3 separate regions of the Homo sapiens genome follow, and all the other regions are linked to region 1. Evidence: promoter capture Hi-C in human tissues and cell types (Jung and others, 2019). All regions are on one chromosome and are shown on one strand. Each heading gives the region's core, a stretch centred on a gene start or on the middle of the fragment in contact. The rest is flanking DNA. Distances are from core to core; before and after follow the strand shown.

The links. Contacts are between HindIII fragments. The study calls those that stand out against the background at their distance.
Region 2: a contact is called between a fragment that was not itself captured here and the fragment with the promoter of USP8 in region 1, in 1 of the 25 tissues and cell types used here (IMR-90 fibroblasts).
Region 3: a contact is called between a fragment that was not itself captured here and the fragment with the promoter of USP8 in region 1, in 1 of the 25 tissues and cell types used here (liver).

What each region holds. Positions count from the first base shown.
Region 1 is chr15:50,422,837-50,425,675 of GRCh38, reverse strand. It overlaps USP8 (ubiquitin specific peptidase 8), which reads right to left and starts at 1,271. Exons shown (of 20, transcript NM_005154.5): 1 at 1,162-1,271. RefSeq lists enhancers at 1,024-1,413, 1,452-2,448 and a silencer at 1,524-1,573. The HindIII fragment of the contact is 18,008 bases long and covers 1-2,839 here.
Region 2 is chr15:50,582,539-50,585,622 of GRCh38, reverse strand. It overlaps TRPM7 (transient receptor potential cation channel subfamily M member 7), which reads left to right. Exons shown (of 39, transcript NM_017672.6): 29 at 2,464-2,534. Among named protein-coding and RNA genes, the nearest start is that of USP50, 37 kb to the right of the region's middle. The HindIII fragment of the contact is 4,205 bases long and covers 1-3,084 here.
Region 3 is chr15:50,601,087-50,603,923 of GRCh38, reverse strand. The region is part of intron 21 of TRPM7 (transient receptor potential cation channel subfamily M member 7); the gene reads left to right. Among named protein-coding and RNA genes, the nearest start is that of USP50, 56 kb to the right of the region's middle. The HindIII fragment of the contact is 6,844 bases long and covers 1-2,837 here.

The DNA of each region.
Region 1 (2,839 bases), core at 22-2,521:
GTGTATTTTTTTTTTAAACTACTACAGGGTCTTCACTAATATTAAAGATGCATCCAATGTGTCACAAGAAAAGGAATACATATTTCAAAGCAGCCATATCAACATGATAAAGACATAACACAACCGATATCACCTTCCAGATATGCTTAATAGTCCAGGGATATGCTGTAAGGAGAAACTACCCAAATCCATCATGAATGACATTCACCAACGAATCTTAAACAGAATCGGCTGAAATGCAAAAATCTGCTTACATAGCAAAGCCGCAGCAGAGCAAGCCTAAAACAGGAATACTTCCTTAACAAATACCACTTGGCATTTTTAATGGCTGCAGCAAGATATTTACAAAACTAACGATGCTTTGCAGATTCAGAAAAGGTAACATCCTTTAGATATAAATCCCTTTCATCTGAAACCCTCAGGTCTCTTAACAAATACTAAATTCCTTAGGCTCTGCAACACCTCCGTGTCAGGTAAATTTTTTGTTAGTGATTAAGTGACTTGTTCAAGGTCACAGAATGAACTGGAGGCAAGAAATAAACCCAGGAGGGTGGTCTGCAGCTTTATAATGCACATCACTGCTAGTAAGGATTCTGATAATTTCCAAGGTGGAGTGGCGGTGAAATTAACTTGTCCCACAACTCTAGGATGGAAGGCACTTTTTAGGGGAAAAAAAAAAAATCTTCTATTTGAGGAAGTCATAGTTTTAACTCTGACAAGCTTATAGGGTCTTTAAACTCAAACTTCACTAAAATCAAGTGTGACTGGGGAAGAAGAGAAACTGGGAAACAGTTTTAGGAGCTACAGTAAGGCCTGGGATTGTAGGCAGATTGCAGAAAAAAAAAAAAACCGGAAGCAAGAGGAAAGAGGTCAAAGTCGGGTATAAGTGTCCAAGAGAACGGAAGATTGGTCAAAGCCACCTTTTAAAACCAAAAAAACACACGAAACTCGCTTGGCAATCCTAGGTAGATGGCGTAAAAGACTCAAGGTTGGGCCTTTCCTCTCCACAAGCTGATTCTACCTTTAGGAGTTGTCCCACTCCTCTCCGCGGACAGAGCTTGTCTCCGGGGTAACCAGCAGCTGGTGGAAGGAAAGGCGTTCATCGTTCACAGCGGACGACTTCCCAGAGAACAGGTGCTAGGGCCCAAGACCCGCACTCACCGTGACGCCGGGCGCGCTTCACTAACGCCAGCCTTCTCGCCAAATGCCCATCTCCCAAGAACTCGAGGGAGAATTAGCCTTGGCTACCAGGACGGAAGCCAGCCCAGCTCACCCCCTTTTCCCGATTTGCATTGCGAGGCGACGCGTCGCGTCTCCAGACGTCACGGCAGGGGCGGGGCTTCGCGTGCGCTCCCTTGACTCCTCTCTCTTCCACCGCCCTCCCCTTTTCGGTGAGGGCCGCGGGGCGAGGGATGGTCGAGGGAGGGTCGAGGAGGACGTTATGGGTGGGCGGTGGCGGCAAGGGCGGGGTTTCTCTGAGTCGGGTCAACATAGTTGGCCGGTCCCTTACCCCCCGCACTGCACCCTGCATTTCCGGGTTGCAAGGCGGCGCCTGGGCCTTGTTGTGGAAGAAGCAAGGTTGCTCTTGCGTCCCTTTACTACGTTATTTTCCTCCTCAGATTGGAAATTAGAAAAAAGGGGATTTAACGCCCCTCTATTTCTGGCTAAACATTCTCTGAAGCCAAGCCTTTGGTCAAAGAAAAACAAGTATTATCCTAAAACATATTTTATGTACAATTTTTAACGTCACTTAAAAGGCCCCGGCGAGGCTGGGCACGGTGGCTCACGCCTGTAATCCCAGCGCTTTGGGAGGCCGAGGCGGGCAAATGATGAGGTCAGGAGTTCGAGACCAGCCTGGCCAACATGGTGAAACCCCCGTCTCTATTAAGAATACAAAAAATTAGCTTGGCGTGGTGGCGTGCGCCTGTAATCCTAGCTACTCCAGTGGCTGAGGCAGGAGAATTGCTTAAACCCGGGGAGCGAAGGTTGCAATGAGCCGAGATCGCGCTACTGCACTCCAGCCTGGGCAGCAGAGCAAGACTCCGTCTGGTTGGGCGAAGGCCCCGTGTAATAGAAACGAAATGAGACGTCTGAACTTTCTCGCGAGCTGATCTTTGTACTCTCTTAGAGAAAGGTGATTGGATGCTCCGGTTGCCTGTAAACATAAAATTGACTTGGGTGGAGCTTTAGGCAGTAGTCACTAAGTCCTCAGGAACATTCCAGGTGTCTCAGGGATGGGAAATCTGGCTAGCGAGGTCTAGTAAATGCTTTAAGTGAAAGTGTGTGCCACATGGTACAGTGTACACTGCTCGGGTGATGGGTGCACCAAAATCTCAGAAATGACCACTAAAGAACTTTTCCATGCAACCTGTTCCTCCAAAACTACTGAAATAAAAATTTTTAAAAATAAAAAAGGATAAAATAAAGAAAGTGTGTTCAATGAATTTGTGATGAAGGCCAGGTTGCAGTGGCCCAGGCCTGTAATCCCAGCACTTTGGGAGGCTGAGGCAGGAGGATCCCTTGATCCCAAGAGACAGAGACCAGCTTGAGCAACAAAGGGAGACCCTCATCTCTACAAAACAAAAATTTAAAAATTAGACCGGGAGCGGTAGCTCACGCCTGTAATCCCAGCACTTTGGGAGGCCAAGGTGGGCAGATCACTTGAGGTCAGGAGTTTGAGACCAGCCTGGCCAAAATGGCAAAACCTGGTCTCTACTAAAAATACAAACATTAGCTGGGCATGGTGGCGCGTGCCTGTAATCCCAGCTACTGAGGAGGCTGAGTCAGTGAATCGCTTGAACCTGGAAGGTGGAGGTTGCAGTGAGCCGAGATCGTGCCA
Region 2 (3,084 bases), core at 55-2,554, 160 kb before region 1:
CAAAAATATAATTGTGATAATGCATGATAGTAGCAGATTAAAGGAGAAAAATCATGAGATCATCTTAACAGCTGATTTGGTTAACATTCAGTATTCATTCTTAATCTCAAAAAGGATATCAACAAAAAATTATCACAAAGCATCAAACTTCATAGTGAACTATTGAAAGCCCAAGATGGGGAGCAAGACAAGGATTTTGACTGTTACTGTTTCTGTTTTACATTCTAGCCAGAGCAGTAAAGCAAGTAAAATAAATGGTAGAGTGGGCCAGGTGGCTTACGCCTGTAATCCTAGCACTTTGGGAGGCCGAGGCAGGTGGATCACCTGAGGTCAGGAGTTCAAGACCATCCTGGTTAACAAGGTGAAACCCCGTCTCTACTAAAAATACAAAAAATTAGCCGGGCGCGGTGGCGGGCGCCTGTAGTCCCAGCTACTCGGGAGGCTGAGGCAGGAGAATGGCGTGAACCCGGGAAGCGGAGCTTGCAGTGAGCCGAGATTGCGCCACTGCAGTCTGCAGTCCGGCCTGGGCGACAGAGCGAGACTCCGTCTCAAAAAAAAAAAAAAAAAAAAAATACAAAAATTAGCTAGATGTGGTGGCGCACGTCTGTAATCCCAGCTACTCGGGAGGCTGAGGAAGAAGAATCGCTTGAACCCAGGAGATGGAGGTTGCAGTGAGCCAAGATAGCGCGACTGCACTCCAGCCTGTGCAATGGGAATGGGAGCGAGACTCCATCTCAAACAAAAAAGAAAAAGAGAAAGAAATGGTAGAAGGATTAGGAGGGAAGAAAAAGAATTCTCAGTATTTAAGTTAACATAGATGTTATTCCTAAGTTAGTATGCTTATATGGATTGAACATCCCAAAATCTAAAATGCTCCTAAATCCAAAATTTTTGAGTACTGACTGAAAGGAAATGCTCATTGGAGCGTTTCAGATTTCAGATTTTCAGATGCTCACCTGGGTGAGTATAATGCAAATATTCCAAAATTTAAAAAAAAAAAAAAAAACAGAAATCTGAAACACTTCTGATCCCAAGCATTTCTAGTAAGTGATCACTAGAAATACTCAAACCTACCTGTATTGCAGCATCCTCATATTTCAGTTTTAGGCCGTATCTGTTGACCTTCCACTAAAGAAGACAAGAATTGAACTCTCTTTTCTCACTCTGTATTCCCAGAACGAACATACACACACACACCTGTTCACCCTTTTCCACCAAGTATAGTTACAGTTTTGGTTAAATCAACACTCTAGGTTCTCTGGTATTTAACCAGATTTCTTCATGATATTCAGAATATAATGTATTCTGTCAGTTTCATCATATTGAAAACATTTTGCCCAGAGTCTTCTAATATATCTCAGTCTGGTCTTTTTGTCCTCTACACCTGGAATACAAATTTTGTTCTGAGATTTTCCTTTCTTCATTCTGAGGTTATCCTTTGTTGTACTGTAAAATTGTAAGCTTTCTCTAAGTTGATTTGTAACTTAATGACCTGACTTTTTTTGGAAGTAGGCTTAATTCTAAAGTTCATTTCGGATAAATAAGATATGACAACAAAGGTATTATCATAAATTGGGGAAAAGGATTATTCATTGCGGCACTGTTTATCATAGGAAGAGATTGGAAACAGATCAAATTTCCATCAGTAGGAGTTTGTTTAAATACATTAATGTGTATCCAATATGAAATAAAGAGAGCATCGAAAGATAATTGGGAAATCTTCTCTGTTCTGTAGAAAATCTCTAAGCTGGCTAGGCGCAGTGGCTCACACCTGTAATCCCAGTACTTTGGGAGGTTGAGGCGGGTGGATCACCTGAGGTCAGGAGTTTGAGACCAGCCTGAACAACAAGGAGAAACCCAGTCTCTACTGAAAACAAAATTAGCCGGGCATGGTGGCACATGCCTGTAATGCCAGCTACTAGGGAGGCTGAGGCAGGAGAATCGCTTGAACTCAGGAGGCAGAGGTTGTGGTGAGCTGAGATTGTGCCACTGCTCTCCAGCCTGGGCAACAAGAGTGAAACTCTGTCTCAAAAAAAAAAAAACAAAACTCTAAGCTTAAAGTTTAAAATAACAAAACCCTCCAGACATATATGTTTCTCTACCATTTATGTTAAATATTGGCGGGGGTATGTGTATACACATACAAATATCCCAGGAAGAATATGCAAGAAATGAATTACCTTTACTGTCCCCAGTCAGGGTGATTGGGAACAGGAGGGGGAGAAATTTTTTTTTACTTCATACTCTCATTTATTGTTGCCTTTTCACAATAAATTGAATAGTTTACTCAAAATAAATTGAATAATTTATGGGCCTCATGTAACTCTTGTGTTCAGCGTGTTGAGGAAAGGTTGAGTTATCTTATGAAGGTTATACTGTGCCTAGAATACTTTGTGTTTGGTTAGTTGGTATTCATAAAACTTCAGTTGTGTAGCTTTTTTATATTTTTTAATTTTCTTTTAGCAGAAAAAATCAGTAGAAGGCCATCTACCGAAGACACTCATGAAGTAGATTCCAAAGCAGCTTTAATACCGGTTTGTAGATTTCAACTAAACAGATATATATTATTAAATACATTAAACTTTTTTAGATAAGATCTACAAAGTGGTGATATTTGGGACTATATCAAAAATTCAAAAAAATTTTTCTTAAGAAAACTGACTTTAGCATAGTAGCAGTTACAGAAAAGTTTCTTACAGTGAATAGTCAGGAATTTTAAAGAAAAATTTATGCAGAATAAAGGCAGGAATCTCTTTTTGTTTGAATTGAAGCTAATTATATGAACTCATTTCCAGCTAACTGCGATAATGATTGATTTTGCAAATTCCCTTTAAAAGCACACACTGACAAGACAAAAAGCTCAGGAAAAGGCAGAAAAATTACTCCTTTATAATCAAGTATTATATATAAGTCAGTGCTCATAATTTTGCTCAAGAAAATATTGACTTACATTCAAAATATATCTGTTCTGGCATAGAGAGATTATGTTGTTAAAATCATGTTATTGAAAAAAGTTATTTCAGTGGGGAAAGAGGTTAGTTAACAAAGAGATTCACAGTAACAAATCCTCCTTTCTGGAGGGAC
Region 3 (2,837 bases), core at 328-2,827, 180 kb before region 1:
GTATGAACACATGTGTTTGTTTCAGACTTCTTGTAAATAAATATATACAGTAGTTTTATCAAAATATGCTTTAAAAATACATGCTGTTTCTCAATTATTTTAAAATAGTTGTCCCATTTTAATAAATATAAAAAGCTATTCTTAGAGTTTCTTATACTCCCTTAATCTTAGAAAATCAGTCTTCTCTTGGAACCAACCCAAATGTCCATCAATGATAGACTGGATTAAGAAAATGCGGCACGTATACACCATGGAATACTGTGCAGCCACAAAAAAGGATGAGTTCATGTCCTTTGTAGGGACATGGATGAAGCTGGAAACCATCATTCTGAGCAAACTATTGCAAGGACAGAAAACCAAACACCGCATGTTCTCACTCATAGGTGGGAATTGAACAATGAGAACACTTGGACACACGGTGGGGAATGGGGAACATCACACGCTGGGGCCTGTCATGGGGTGGGGGGCAGGGGGAGGGATAGCATTAGGAGATATACCTAATGTAAATGAGTGCAGCACACCAACATGGCACATGTATACATATGTAACAAACCTGCACATTGTGCACATGTACCCTAGAACTTAAAGTATAATAATTAAAAAAAAAAATCAGTCTTCTAAATTAAATATTTCTTGAGTAACCCTGCTAAGCTCACAAGATTATCTTCGCATCTTGAAAACAAGATTTTTAGGTTTTCTAAATATAAATTATTATATTTGCACTTTCACGCTGCACTGTTTCCCTCCAAGAGAATGTGTCTTCCCCCCCTTAATTGAGAATAACTGGTGTACTGTTTTTCACATCAAAGTATTACTCATTATTCACACATTTTGGCATTCTTATGGTATTTCAAGGAAAAATAGGGCAGTTAAGGTTTTTTGGGAAGAATTGGTTTTAGCCTAACATTTTAGCATGCAAAAAAGGTGTTGTAGCTCTTATGCTTACCAGGTTATTTAGTGACTCAGTGGTGTCTAGTTACTTTAATGGTAATGTAAATGGAAGAGTTAGGAAGTACAGAAGCCTTTATTTGTGATCTTCTCTAGAACCACCCTCTGCTAGGATGTCTTTCTCCTTGTCAGCTAGTCATTTGTTCCGTCATTGTGTGTTTTCCCTAGTGCCAGCTTCCCTTTACATCCCCTTTGGAAGTTTCATAATGGTTACTGTTTTAGTTCTAACATTCATTATTTCGTCATTGTGTATCTATTACATGTTAAGAGTTAAACTAAGCTGGGGCTACAAAGATGAATAAGACATGGTCCAGATCTTCGTGGAACTCAACAATTGAGTCTCTAAATATAGACATGTGAACAGATAGGTAGCTATTGAAAAATATGATAAATTGTTACGTGAAGATAGAAGAGCTAGTAACCAATTCTGTCATGAAGGCTTTCACAAAGATTATGGCATTTCAAAGGAGTTTAGAAAATACGTAGGATTTACATAGGTATACATGCACCATGTTGGTTTGCTGCACCCATTAACTCATCATTTACATTAGGTATTTATCCTAATGCTATCCCTCCCCCTGCCCCCTACCCCATGACAGGCCCCGGTGTATGATGTTCCCTACCCTGTGTCCAAGTGTTCTCGTTGTTCAGTTCCCACCTGTGAGTGAGAACATGCGGTGTTTGGTTTTCTGTCCTTGCAATAGTTTGCTCAGAATGATGGTTTCCAGCTGCATCCATGTTCCTGCAAAGAACATGAACTCATCCTTTTTTATGGCTACATAGTATTCCATGGTGTATATGTGCCACATTTTCTTAATCCAGTCTATCATTGACGGACATTTGGGTTGGTTCCAAGTCTTTGCTATTGTGAATAGTGCCACAGTAAACATACGTGTGCATGTGTCTTTATAGTAGCATGATTTATAATCCTTTGGGTATATACCCAGTAATGGGATTGCTGGGTCAAATGGTATTTCTTTACCCTAGAACTTAAAGTATAATCATTAAAAAAAAAAAAAAGAAAATATGTGGGATTTTTCTTCTGAGCAGGGAGTTTCTAACCAGAGGAAACAGCTTTGAAAAGCTTGAAGACAATAAAAGATTAAAAAGAAGAAACCTCCCTCACACTTTATAGGCTAGTGCAAAAGTAATTGCGGTTTTTGCCATTAAAAGTAATTGCAAAAACTGCAATTACTTTTGCATCAACCTAATACATCTTTTAATAGCAGACTAATGAAAATTATATGGTAAATGCTAAACTTCTCACACTCATTCTGTATGCATTATAAGAATCCTCATTTTTAAAAATTTTACTTTATTTTATTTTATTTTTTAAGATGGAGTCTCGCTGTGTCACCCAGGCTGGAGTTCAGTGGCGCGATCTGTGCTCACTGCAACCTCCACCTCCTGGATTCAAGCGATTCTTCTGCCTCAGCCTCCCGAGTAGCTGGGACTACAGGTGTGCGCCACCATGCCCGGCTAATTTTTGTATTTTTAGTGGAGACAGGGTTTCACCATATTGGCCAGGCTGGTCTCACACCCCTGACCTTGTGATCCGCCTGCCTCGGCCTCCCAAAGTGCTGGGATTACAGGCGTGAGCCACCGTGCCCAGTAAAATTTTACTTTAAGAATCCTCATTTTTATGAGCAAGCTGATACTCACATATTTTTAATTAATTAAATTCCTATCAAGCACAAGGAAAGTGGTTGTCATTTAGGCTTTATGTGAAAAGCTGTGTGAAATGCAAAGATGACTATGAATCATCAACCATAGACCTTGAATAATTTTAGTTTACGTCAATACAGATTTGCGTTTCATTTGGAATATTTGACTTGGCTTTTCCTTTAATTACAAGCATTTGTATTCTAAAATATATCAAATAGCATGAA